Linked DNA regions of Homo sapiens: all the other regions are linked to region 2. Evidence: promoter capture Hi-C in 16 types of primary human blood cells and fetal thymus (Javierre and others, 2016). All regions are on one chromosome and are shown on one strand. Each heading gives the region's core, a stretch centred on a gene start or on the middle of the fragment in contact. The rest is flanking DNA. Distances are from core to core; before and after follow the strand shown. Region 1 holds the start of LINC02226 (long intergenic non-protein coding RNA 2226). Region 2 holds the start of ATPSCKMT (ATP synthase c subunit lysine N-methyltransferase). Region 3 overlaps CTNND2 (catenin delta 2).

Region 1 (4,728 bases), core at 1,972-4,471, 1.8 Mb before region 2:
AAGGAAGCTGCAGAAAAGTTTAAAGCTGGCAGACATTGGCTGATGAGGTTTAAGGAAAGAAGCTGTCTCCATACATAAAAGTGCAATGTGAAGCACCAAGTGCTAGTGTAGACACTGCCACGAGTTATCCAGAAGATCCAGCTAAGATCATTGATAAAGGTGGCTACACTAAACAACAGCTTCTCAGTGTAGGCAAAATAGCCTTATGTGGAATGAGATGCTGTCTAGGACTTCATCTGACATGCTTTATTGTGATATTCACTTTATTGAGGTGGTCTGGAACTGAACCCCCAATATCTCTGACATATGCCTGTAATTTGCAAGGGGGAAAACAACTTTTTGCTATTACATTCAAAATGGATTTTGAAAGAGTCAGTTTTCTTTTTTCTTTCTTTTTTTTTTTTTTTTTTTTTTTGAGACGGAGTCTTGCTCTATCGCTCAGGCTGGAATATAATGGCACAATCTCTGCTCACTGCAACCTTCGCCTCCCGGGTCCAAGCAATTCTGCTGCCTCAGCCTCCCAAGTAGCTGGGACTACAGGCACATGCCACCATGCCCGGCTAATTTTTGTATTTTTAGTAGAGATGGGTTTCACCACATTGGCCAGGCTAGTCTTGAACTCCTGATGTCGTGATCTGCCCACCTCGGCCTGCCAAAGTGCTGGGATTACAGGCGTGAGACACCACCCCTGGCCCAGGAGTCAGTTTTCTATATCACTTGACTTTCTTTGCTCAGAAAGTCCAGCAACATGTTGCTCTAGGTCTTTGTTTAAAAAAATGTTATTGTGCCCAAAGTATTTAAAAATTTCTAAGACTTAGTATCTATTTCCTTATTAGAACTAAGAAAAAGAGAGCTCACAGGTAGTGTCTGATCAAAAACCACAAGCTTGCTGCACACTTGGCCTATTTAGGATTCAAGTTAGAAACTGTCAACTGAGAGATGTTAATTATCTTCTTTTTAAAAGTTGCTTGTAGATCCACTGTTTTAGCCCAGAATATTTCATAAAATGACACTGATACGTTTTGAATATATGTCCCCACCAAATCTCATGCTGAATTTTAATCCCCAGTGTTGGAGGCGGGGGCTGGTGGGAGGTGTTTGGGTCGTGGAGGCAGATCCCTCAGGCTTGGTGCTGACTTCCTGATACTAAGTTCCTGCAAGATCTGGTTGCTGTAAATTGTGGCACCTCCCCACCACTTTTCTCTCTTCCTCCTGCTGGCCTTCCACCATGAATAAAAGCTCCCTGAGGCTTCCCCTGGAAGTCTAACAGATGCCAGCAGCATGCTTGTACAGCCTGCAGAACTGTGAGCCAATTAAACCTCTTTTCTTTATAAACTACCCAGTCTCAGGTATTTCTTTATAGCAATACAAGAATGGACTAATACAGACACATCATTTTTTTGTGTGTGGTAAATTCTTCCAATTTCTCACCTTGCATTCCCAGTGCTGCCCTAACTGGACCTGGGGAGTTTCATCATACTTTCTTCAATACAAAGATTGTGAATACCTATGAACTCTTTTAAGACAATTTGTATTCTGCCATCAGGCTTCCTAAGCTACCTTGTGGATCCACATGCAACAGAATCAGAACTTTCAAAGCAGTCACCAAACATGTAACTGACAACTTAAAAAAAAAAAATTCAAAATGAAATTAACAAGCACCAAGGGTGTTATTATTCTCTTATATTTCTTTTAGCAGCATTCCATCACTATCTGCTTCTTCCACTTCAGAAACCTGCAAAACTGCTGTAGAATATCAAGCAGTTGTTCTAGTGAAGTCAATTATTTTTTAGCTCACTGCAAAACATCTGTTGACCCACGTTTTAGTCTTCTGTTCACTCTCTTCCAAGTATGTACTTGGGAAAACAACAGGACATCAACCAGGCAAGCTCATTACCATTTTCCACAGATAAATCTTTACAGTCGGTGTGAAAAATCTCACCCTGAACTATGGTGGCTGTAGTGAAAAGAACCATGGACAGACACAAGTATGACTTGTGAACATGATTCATAAAGCACCCAGAGCCCCAGTGTGGCAACACCAGATGAATGAAAAAGGTTCTACCATGTTATCAAAATCATGTCATTCTCACTTTCCCTCAACAGTACCTAAATTTTAAAAAGAATATAAGCATAATGATGAAATACTACAAAAGTATCAATTGAGATCACACTGCACTCAATGAAAATTATCCATGTTTATGAAAATAAAGATCTGTATCCAAAAAAATAGCAAAGTGTCCACAATAAATTATAAACACCAGGACATCAGGGACATTGATCTCTATATCCCAAAGCCTAGAAAAGTGCCCAGCACCTAATAACAATACTAACTTTTGAACATTTCACCACGTGCCAGGCACAGTTCTGATATGCTCCATGTTTCAACTTAAGGCTTACAGGCCAGGCTTACAGGCCACCAGTGAATCTATAAAGTTTCAGTTTATATATGAGAACTGAAGCACGGGATTAGATAATATTCCGAGACAACACAAATTAGTAGCAGATGGGTTAAACTCAGGCCGCGCATGTCTAGAATATGCACACTTACATGCTTGTTGAAAAAACTGTGTTGATTAGTATCAAACTAGCTTTAGAAAATAGAAGTTAAAAAAGGCAATAGACTTTGGCAAATTATTTGAGTAAAACGTCAAATGTCAGATATGTCGAGGCATGGGTAGCCTTCTAAGGGGTCACGTCTATGGAAGGAAAAAGTTTGGCTTAACAAATAGGAAAGTGAGAAAAAGAATGAAACAGTAAAATAACAGGATCTCGTGATGGGGAAAAGGCGGCCTGCCCAGACCTAAACGCCTCGCGGCCTCGCAGGCGACGCGGGGATGACTCAGCAGGACAGAAGGGAGGGAAGCTCCAGACGCCACGGCCCTCTTCGAGATGAAAGTACCTCCCATCCTAAGGGACTGGCGTTCCAGGAACAGCTGCGCTGGCTGAGCCGGCTCAGTGAGGCGGAGCGGCCAAGCCTTCAGTCCACTCCCACTCCCCGATGAAAAACCCAAGACCGGGTAGCGCAGCCCCTCCGCGCACGCGTAACACGAGGAGACACCGCCCACACGCCAGACGCGCTGTGATTGGCCCCAGCTACCCTCGGACCGAGATTCCTATTGGTCCCAGGTGTCGAGCATGCGCACTTTGGTCGTGGGCGCGTGTGTGGAATGGGAGGAGGTCGCGCTGTCCATGGGCGTCCTTGGCCTGCGCCACCCAGGTGAGCGCTCCGGAGGCTGCGATCCCCGGGTCCCGACCGCCCGCCTAGCACTGGCCTGATGGGGAAGCGTCCCGGGACTGGAAGGGCAGCCGGCTTGCGCGCGTGGTTCCCACGCCCCTCGGGCTCGGGGGATCGCTCCGGGTGCTGGCTGCGGGCTCGGCGGGGAGGACCCCGGGAGCGCGTCCCTGGGCCCCACGTCGGCCTCTGCGCGGGCAAGCCCCTGGGCTCTTTGGCTCTAGACGCTTTCCAGGCCTGGGGAAACCGCATGCGTGGACGTGGGAAACGGGGCGCGTGACGGGGAGGGGCGCGCCCCGGGGGCCTGTGGTCGTTCCGAGCTTCCACCTGGCCCGACGCAGGCATGTGCCCTGCCCGCCGCGTCGTCCCTGGGCCTGCGGGGGCTGGGGCCTCAGCTGAGAGTCCTGGGAAGGTGGTGCTGGATTGTGGCTCTGTCGCGGGGATGAGGGGTTGATCTGGGAAGCCCTCAGGATGTGTGTGTGGCTCCTGGAAGGTGACGCACATTGTTAGCTTCAGTAAGGTTTTCAACACCATGTTTCCGCAGAACTTGGTCATAATAACTATATCGCCTTCTAATAGTGCTTTTGGGGAGTTACTCATTTTAACAGCTACTACGTGTTGAATGTCCTCTTGTTTGCCAGGTGCAGTTCTCATCCCTAGGGGTGGAGAGTTGAAGAAGATATATTCAGTTATTTTCTTTTTTAATGCTTGAGCTAACAATGATTTTATCCTTTGCTTTCTTAAAGGTTTAATTTGCTCTTAGGTGGACAGAAAAGCATAAACTGAATTTTAACTACAAGTTGGTCACAGTTGAAAAGCCTCATGTGTGGTTTGAGTTTTAGCTTAGATCTCTCCTTACATGTCTTTCCTGACAGCTCCTCAGATTTAGACAGTGTGAGGATCAAAACTGTATGAAGGTGCTTTACTCTTGATAATCTGTGAACGTCAACTAGGAAAATTTTGAGTGTATTAGAAATGTTTTTCGAACTCTTTGAGAGTCTAGGCAATTTCACTTGGGTTCTGTGATTAATTTGCAAAGTATTAGGATGAAATCAAGAAACCTGCAGTTTTAATTGAATTGACTTTGGTTTTGTTTCTCAAAAAGTGGGACAACAAAAATACCTACTTAAGACTACTGTTTCAGGCACTGTCTAATTGCATTCATCAGATCTTATTATATTCATTCCATGAGGAATCGAAGACCTATTCAGTCAAGCAGCAGCCCAAGGTTACACGTCTAATAAAGGGCACATTCCCAGATCAAGCCCATGTAGGCTGACTCTAGATTCTGATTTTGAACTGCTCTGTTTCTGAATTGGAGTTTAACTCCTCTGTTACCCCTAGATTAATGGTGAGTATTTTCTCTCACCCAAGTTAATTCCATTAACTCTAATCAGAACCCTAATTTAGCATATTTCCAGTACAGTAGTTGCGGATCCATCCTACTCTAGAGTTTTTGTGCTATGTGTTAACTGTCTTTTATAAATGAAGGG
Region 2 (4,301 bases), core at 1,082-3,581:
CTGGTCTCAAACTCCTGGGCTCAAGCAATTCTCTCGCCTCAGCCTCCTAAAGTGCCTCCATGCCAGGACCTGTATTGATTCTTATCAGTAAAAATCAGGCCCTGAATATTCAAAACTAAAATCAAGACTGTTTCTACAAATCCTTCTAACGGAACATGTTCAGACTCCCAGACTATCCTATATATAAATGGCAAGAACTTTCTTTCAGGTGTTCTTTGGAACAAGGAGCCATTCTATTAAATAATGGCTGCAGTGGCCACTGGCTACTTTCATTGAGCACTTAGTAGTCCATCCTTTAAAGTCAAACACAGAATGAGGTTAACTTCTACTGTGTCCGGGCCCTGCTTGCTTATTGACTTCTAATATTGGTTGAAAACTTCAATTTTTAGTGGCAGATTTGGATCAGCTGAAGCTAGAGGCAGTGACAGATGTACAATAAGGTACCCAAGGTTCTTATCCAAGTTCAAGCCAAAAGAAAAAGGCCAAGAAGAGAGAAGGAGCCTGTTAGGAATAGTAACTAGCCACGTGTTTAAAGCGGGCTTATATCAGAATGTCACAACTCATAAGGACTGTTCATTGTGCACTTGTATGTGCATACCTGTTTAATAACTACAGCATATGTTATGTCCCTTTAGCATATATTCTTATGTCCTTAAGAAGCCTTTCTTATACTAGTCTAATGTCATTTGTGTCCTTTTGACATACATGAGCTATTGATATTAGGAAAAATCCTCTCTCACTCCCCAGTGTTTTGACAGGGAATCAACTACACAGAGGATGCCATAGGACATTCTATTTTTCACAACAATCGAAGGAGCCAAATGAATTGCAGAAGTCACCATTTTTAATGAGGAAACACTGAATTGGCAAAGCTAACGTGAAATAAGACCTGACTCCAAAATCTAAAATGTCCTTGAAGAACACTTCAAGGTCTAGCGCGTAAGTATGCCAAGCATGAAGAGTTAACAGATCACCAACCATCCCATGACAGTCAGTCCTCCCTGTTTTTAGAGACAGAATCTCGCTCTGTCGCCCAGGATGGAGTGCAGTGGCGCGATTATAGCGCACTGTAAACTGAACTCCTGGGCTCCACCCATCCTCCTGCCTCAGCCCCAGAGTAGATGGGAACACAGTCGCCAAGTCTGTTCTTGAGTTTCAGGACAGGGTCAAATGTTATAGTGCATGTATTCATTTCAGCACTTATTGAGTGCCTAATAAAGTCTGGGAATAATACAACTTTATTAGTTAAGTCCCTGCCCATGGCAGTAGGGGAGAAGCAAGGATGGAAACCCTCAACAAATAAATCTAAACCTATCAAATATTAAGTCATGATCTTGGAGGGCGGGGAGGAAGGCAGCATAAGAGATTTAGAGGACAGCTGCGGTTGCCAAGATCTTTCTGAGGCAGCATAATACAGGGCTTAAGAGTGAGACCTGCCGGGCACCGCGGTGGCTCAGGCCCAACACTTGGGGAGACCTAGACGGGTACATCACTTGAGGTCAGCCGTTCGAGACCAGCCTGGCCACTACGGCGTTAACACCGTCTCTACTAAAAATACAAAAATTAGCGAGCGTGGTGGTTCTGTGCCTGTAGTCCCAGCTGCCTGGGAGGCTGAGGCACGAGAATCACTGGAACCCGGGAGGCGGAGGCTGCAGTGAGCCGAGACCGCGCCACTGCACTCCAGCCCGGGCTACAGTCTTGTCTCAAAAAAAAAAAAAAAAAAAAAGAGTGTGGGACCCATTGCATCAGGCTGTGTAACTGTTTCTTACTAGCTGTATACCAGTGGCAAGTTACTGAACCATTTGTGCAAAATGTTAATTTATTTACCAACACTGTGTTCAGCTTGCCAGGCACCGTTCTCCTTGAATCTCACAGCAGCCCTGTGAGTAGGCACTACTGTTACCACCGTCACTTTGCAGACAGGGAACCCGAGGGACAAAGAAGTTAAGGGATTTCCTCAAAGCCACAGCTAGGAAGAGCGGCAGAACTGCGATTCCAATCCATCAGTGTGCCTCCACTATCCCTATTCCTTAAGATCGTGCCAAAGGCTGAGTCACTTGCACTAAGTAGCCTAGAACAGTCTCTGGGGAAACGCGCCCGCCGACAAGGATCGCCAGAACCGGCGCGGGCACCGCGCGGCGACCAGGAGCTCTGGTCACCGAAGGCCAGGCTGGAGGCCAGAGCAGCCGCCCGCACCCGGTCACCGCCTCGACAGTGGAGACCTCAGCTGACCGCGAGCCCCCGGCCCGCCCGCACCCCTTCTCATGCCCCCAGGAACCCGCCAAGCCGCTCCAGCCTCACCTCCTCCTCCCTCCATCGCGAGATTTCCAACAGCGTTTTTAAAAAAAAAAAAAAAAAAAAAAAAAAAAAAAAAAAAACCGGAAATGGGTCCTACCATCTTCTCGGAGCCGGAGTGCGAAGAAATAAAGAAATAGTGCTTTAAGTCAATGAATTCCTCCTTGGGACCCACTATCGAGAAACTATCAGTGGTAACGTTTTAAAAAATGACAAATTCAATCTGCTCTTGACTTGTGTGTCCTAAGATTTCCACTAAGTGTCTTCAAACCTCCCCCTCCCCGGCTTCCTGGATAATAGAAGTTCCCGAAGGCCGCCGATTCCAGAAGATACTGTCTGGCGTGAAATTAGTCTCAGTAGAAACATAAGTCCCGCGCGTCTTGTGCTGCGCGTGCGCAAGCTTTTGGGCCCTCCCGAGAAAGGGAAGTGCATTCTCGCTTCCGTAGCGGTCTCCGCCGGTTGGGGGGAAGTAATTCCGGTTGTTGCACCATGGCGTCCATGGGGACCCTCGCCTTCGATGAATATGGGCGCCCTTTCCTCATCATCAAGGATCAGGACCGCAAGTCCCGTCTTATGGGACTTGAGGCCCTCAAGGTAATGGCACAGGGACCTGCTCGCGGTGGGCTAAGGGGAGGTGGCCGAGGCCGTGGCTCTGCGCCTGCGCGAGTTGAGGAGCGGCTCTGCCATGTGCTCCCCGGAAAGGTCGAGAATCTCCGTCTCCCTGCGGTCTCCGGCCGCTCAGCCCGCTTACTGAGCTCGGGAGACGCCGGCGCCTAATCCTGGGCTCGGAATGTGGGGGCCAGCCAGGCTGGGCCGCCAGCGCCCTTCGGAGCTGGGTGGGGCCGCTCAGTCCGGTCGCCCGCGGGAGCAAAGCGGGACCGCCTCCCCGCCCGGCTCCTCCAGCCTGACGGCCGCGTGGGACTGCGCTCCAGTGGGAGGGCGCCGGGGAGATGCTCTGTCACCTGTCGGTTAAGGCGCTGCTGCTTAACCTTTCGCTGGTCCACCCGCAACGGCCCTTCCGTTTTCTTTGTCACTCGTAAAGGTGTGGTCACTTAACAGGGTATTTCATTTCTGAGTGCTTTTTTGCCCACCCTTGAGGAAAAATAGCGAAGAGTGAAAAACGGACGCACATAACCGTAATACAAGGTGGTGTGCAGTGAGAAGGACAGCTACGGAGAGGGTGCACATAAGCGTGGTGCTGGAGGACAGCTTTAGATCGGGGTGAGAGGTAGCATTCTAGGGAGAGGAAACGGTAGAAGTAAAGGCTTGGGCAAGAATGCGCATGGCACGTTGTAGAATGGAAGAGCCATCCGGTTTTAATGGAGCACTGACTTCTTTAACTTACAATAGTTCCCGAAGGTGGAAGCTATTGAATGCCCAACATGGAAAATACGACGTTATCTTTGGGGAAGAAGGGGAGCCATTGAGGGGGTTTTGAGCAGAATTTCAGTAGAGCTGCACTTCAGGCAGCAAAGCTTGAGATAGACCGAAGGGAATAAGGAAGACCAGAGGGGTTAAAGAAACCAGGGCAGGGGTGCAGGTAAGAAACATCTGAGCACCAGACGTTGACAGAAAATGCAGAGGAAGGGACACTCCGAGAGGGCCTTCAGGGTTTGTTATAAAGTGAATTCATAATAGACCATTCCACTAGGTCTCTCAGGTGTCCCTGTTCACTTAGTGTCTTGGAGGTTTACTTACGCAAAGTTAGAAACAATACAGTTCCCCTATGGACTCTTTGTTTGACTTAGTGCTAGTTACACAACCTCGCGGAACCTCCTTTTCCAGGGGGAGGTGATAGGCCTCCGTCAAGCTGAAGACTTGACAGTGATATTAAATGGAGTGACTTAGAGGGGCTGCACAGTGGTTGATCCACGGTAGGCACTCAGTATTTGTTTCCTTTCTAGAAAGAAAAAGTTTCAAGCTAATTGTATTATGTATTCCATTTTATTTTCCACTTAACAGGGACCTGCAGAGAAAATAACATCCAATACACACACCTGGTGTAA
Region 3 (4,245 bases), core at 1,453-3,952, 1.1 Mb after region 2:
GATCTATGCAAAGATGGAAATGTGAAGATGCCCAGAGCTTCCATCAGATGTCTGAAAGGGTGCAGGGCTTCAAATGTAGCACCACATGGATCACGGTACTAAAATAGTATCTGGATTTTTATGCTTCTTTGTAGTGGAGCCCCTGCCATGCTGAGCAGAGTTCCAGAGTTAGGTGTTGAACCATGTCCTTGCCCTCCTGCCAATGAGCATGTGTGGCATGCTCAGAGGTGCTCAGGGAACCCTCAGTCCCTCTGGTGAAGTACAGGACTGAGCTGCATTCTACTGACTTTGGTAGACTCAAGGAATCTGAATTCTTTCTTTATGAACCCAAAAGAAACTCCAGTACACGGAACCACCACCTTCCCTCTGTCCATCACTCCCTCATTCTCTGGCTCTCCCCACCAGGCTAGACCCAAAGTCCCCTGCTATCATCCCTTCTTCCTGTCCCTCCATGGTGTTCACCAGGCAACCTCAGAGGAGGCCTGACTCACTGCCTCCTTTGTCCCAGGTCCTGAACGTGACCAAAGACAAACATCAAGCCATGCTGAAGGTTGTCCTCTGAATTTACAACCACTCCCTTCAAGTGGGCACTCAGCCCTGTGTGGCAGGCAGTTCCACCTCCCTCTCCAGTCCATGCCCCCTCCCACGTACAGGATGGGCACCCCAATCCTAACCCTCAATCCTTAGCTCTTAGGCCCCTCCTCATGCTCAAGCAAGAACCTGATTTCTTTTCTCAGTGAGAAAACAAAAAGTCACCCTCTCCTCACCAGATCCTTCAACCCAACTGGATTTGTTCTCATCTACTGTGCCTTTGCTTTTGTGAAAATGTAGACAAATCGTCCCCTTTCCCTTTGACACCACTAAATCCATTCCTTTTCCCATAGGTAAGATCCTTCCTTACAACGATGCCCTCTTTCTTCCGCCCCACCAAGTTTTATCCTTCTTCGGTGGCATTCCCACCTGCATAAAAACATGCTGTAAAAGCTCTTATCTGAAATAGAACAAAGCAAACAGTCACAACACATGCAACCACTCTAGGTGCTGCCCCATTTTTCTCTCTCTAACCCACCCCTAGAAAAAACATATAGAAATGTCTATAATAATAATAATATATATATTAATAATGAGAGAACATACTTATATAATGTCAGGCACTGTTTTAAGCATGCTGTATATTTAACTCAAATTACTCTACACAGCAATTGTTAACAGAGGGCTGTTATTATCCTCATTTTACTCTTGAGCAAACTGAGCCACAAACTCACTTCTATGGCTTTCCCTGACCACCTCATGTAAAGTGGCACACCTCTCATTCCCAATCTCCTTACCTTGCCTCATTTTCTGTAGAACCTTCTATCTACTTAAGATTGTGTTTATTTGTTGCATGTCTCTTTCTTCTGACTACTAGATAAGCTTCAACAGAACAGAAACTGTGCCTGTTTTCCAATACCTGGAACAGAGCCAAGCCCATGGTTTATACTCAATAAGTATTTGTTGAATAAAGAAGGTTAAAGACCTACACAATAATTTTGTGTAAAATTAGAGAGTTTTAAGAATATGTAAAATAAATATTTATAAATTAAAATGTCTATTCAACGGATATCCTATTTAAAATCATCCTGTGAAGTCATTTGCAAAGTTTTTGTGTGTGACAAACCACAGAAGTCTATAGTGTCTTTATTTATTTATTCGTTTATTTTTATTTATTTATTTTTGAGACAGAGTCTCACTCTGTCGCCCAGGCTAGAGTGCAATGGCACAATCTCAGATCACCACAACTTCTGCCTCTTCTGTTCAAGCGATCCTCCTGCCTTAGCCTCCCAAGCAGCTGGGATTACAGGCTCCTGCCACCACACCTGGCTAATTTTTAAATTTTTAGTAGAGACAGGGTTTCACCATGTTGGCCACGCTGGTCTCGAACTCCTGACCTTAGGTGATCCACCAGCCTCGGCCTCCCAAAGTGCTGGGATTACAGGCGTGAGCCACTGTGCATGGCCTGAAGAAGTCTACAGTTATCTGTATTTTTTCATGTATTTGTTTTTTTGGATTTTCTTCAGCTGATGATCAGAATATTTTAGCCTGTCATATTTTAGTGTGAAATGCATAACGTGTTTCCTGTTTCCATGAAGTTGTCAGGCCCGCTTTGGCAGGCTCACAAATGGACACTGCATATACACAGGCACTGAGCTGAACTCTGAGAACACTAATCACATTTGAAATGGAAACGACACCCAGCGGTTCTGACCATTCTGCACGGAGTTTACATTCCAGTTCATTAGTCATAGGCACTGCTCAATTGCATTCAACTGGCATAGTTCACTTACAACACAGGTAAATATCAAAAGGAAATTAAATCGATGCTCAAATACAATATTTTGTGTAACTCTCTTTTTTCTTTAGTTTCTGTAAATGTGGTTGGCAGGTTTTGACAGGAAAAAAGTTGTTCTTCATAAACATTAATATATTTCACTTTCACTCACATAAGTAAAGTTGCTTCAGTTTTTTTTCTCCACTAGGTTTCTTGTTTATCTAAACACTGGTGTCCTCAGACAAACCAGCTACTATGTCATGGTTTAAAAAATCCTCTGTGGGTGAGAAAATAGTACAGCATACCAAACACCCAATCAGCTGAAGAACTGAAAAGGAAAAAGTATTGTATTAGTCCATTTTCATGCTGCTGATAAAGACATACCCGAGACTAGGAAATTTACAAGAGAAAGAGATTAATTGGACTTACAGTTCCACATGGCTGGGTGGGGGCCTCACAACCATGGTGGAAGGCAAGGAAGAGCAAGTCACATCTTACGTGGATGGCAAGAGGCAAAGAGGGAGCTTGTGCGTAGAAACTCCCATTTTAAAAACCATCAGATCCCATTCACTATCATGAGAACAGCATGGGAAAGACCCGCCCCCATGATTCAATCATCTCCCACCGGATCCCTCCCACAACACGTGGGAGGTATGTGAGCTATAAGATGAGATTTAGGTGGGGACACAAAGCCAAACATATCAAGTATCTTAAAGCAAATTTCTAAAATAGGCCCTGGTTAATCTTAGAAAATTAGGAAAGTGACACCAATTCCTACGATTAAAGAAACAGAATTTAACATAGCTTTACACAATCTATTTTTTGAATTTGATAAACATCAAGATGTTTTTAAAATGTTATGCAATAAATAATATTTTCTAAGTTGAAAATGTATGCATATGACCTTTTTTCTCAAATAAATGCAGAGCTAAATAACACATTCTAAAGACCAGTTTTATCATCTTTCTACTGTTCGTAACATAAAACTGAAATGGTAATGGATCTACCACCAAGCAAAAGAGAATTAAAACAGTTTAAGTGATCGGGAAAATTGACATAAAAATGGATAATGTTTTATACAACAGTGAGTTTCTACATATGTGTGTTGCAACATTAAAAAGGAATTTGATTTTCCATTTTTGTCACTTGCAGATATTGTGTTGATAATAAGATTATTACGTCAAATCAACATTATACTGTGTTCTCCACCATGCATGCTGGGCCCTGCTCTGGGATCACCTCCATGATTTGCTTGGTTGATGGTGGTAACTGGACAAGGTTGGAAGGTTTAAACAGTAGCCACCAAGCCAGGGACAAATAGCTGTGACTTACTGCCAACCTTACAACCTTCTCCATCATGCCTGCACATATTGCTATTTAAGAAAGCCCTGTAATAGCTGCAAAAGTCATCCTTATCAACCCAAGGCATCTTGAGAATGATGTATTAAAAATGTGAAGTAGGGATTGTGAGAAGTTCATAAAAGATGGAAAGTAATACAGCTGCAAGAGAAAGATGGGAAACTTGTGAGGGACAGTCCCTGTTTCAGAGACTGGAGAAATAAATAACCCCCCAATGCACATATGCACCACACACACACATGCATGCACACACATCACACACACACAAACACACTAACGTAATGAACATGGTTCTTGGTGATTCTTTCCTAGAGATTTTCAGCATGAAGCTTGGCTTATAGTACTGTCCTCCCATGTCTGATTCTAAAGCAGAGGTGAGCTTCCTAAAGCTTAACCCTATCTCCCCACTCCTTATGGCCATGATTCCAAGCACAATGAATACATCTGGTTATGTTACCTCCCAGGTCCAAGCCCCCAGAAAAATGGAAAGCCCTGGGGAGCTCTGTTGGAAACTGGGCCTGCCACACAACGCCTCTGGTGGTGTCCTGTTCTATCCCTCCCTCCACACGACTGCAACT

Evidence for each region. The method cuts DNA at HindIII sites, captures the fragments that hold promoters and counts their contacts. A CHiCAGO score of 5 or more calls a contact.
Region 1: a contact is called between a fragment that was not itself captured here and the fragment with the promoter of ATPSCKMT in region 2, in 1 of 17 cell types (naive CD4 T cells). The highest score is 5.0, in naive CD4 T cells.
Region 3: a contact is called between a fragment that was not itself captured here and the fragment with the promoter of ATPSCKMT in region 2, in 2 of 17 cell types (monocytes and M2 macrophages). The highest score is 6.6, in monocytes.

What each region holds. Positions count from the first base shown.
Region 1 is chr5:8,454,547-8,459,274 of GRCh38, forward strand. It overlaps LINC02226 (long intergenic non-protein coding RNA 2226), which reads right to left and starts at 3,018. Exons shown (of 6, transcript NR_039984.1): 1 at 2,903-3,018. MIR4458HG (MIR4458 host gene) reads left to right here and starts at 3,141. Exons shown (of 2, transcript NR_039989.1): 1 at 3,141-3,220. It also overlaps the pseudogene LOC100419318. RefSeq lists an enhancer at 2,731-2,830 and silencers at 3,351-3,400, 3,411-3,470. The HindIII fragment of the contact is 4,676 bases long and covers 884-4,728 here.
Region 2 is chr5:10,247,557-10,251,857 of GRCh38, forward strand. It overlaps ATPSCKMT (ATP synthase c subunit lysine N-methyltransferase), which reads right to left and starts at 2,332. Exons shown (of 5, transcript NM_199133.4): 1 at 2,302-2,332. The coding sequence starts at 2,317. It overlaps CCT5 (chaperonin containing TCP1 subunit 5), which reads left to right and starts at 2,724. Exons shown (of 11, transcript NM_012073.5): 1 at 2,724-2,889. The coding sequence starts at 2,785. RefSeq lists silencers at 2,102-2,221, 2,232-2,291, 3,042-3,111, 3,182-3,321, 3,652-3,874. The HindIII fragment of the contact is 6,282 bases long and covers 1-2,693 here.
Region 3 is chr5:11,317,824-11,322,068 of GRCh38, forward strand. All of the region lies in intron 9 of CTNND2 (catenin delta 2), which reads right to left. Among named protein-coding and RNA genes, the nearest start is that of CTD-2154B17.1, 530 kb to the left of the region's middle. The HindIII fragment of the contact is 2,583 bases long and covers 1,412-3,994 here.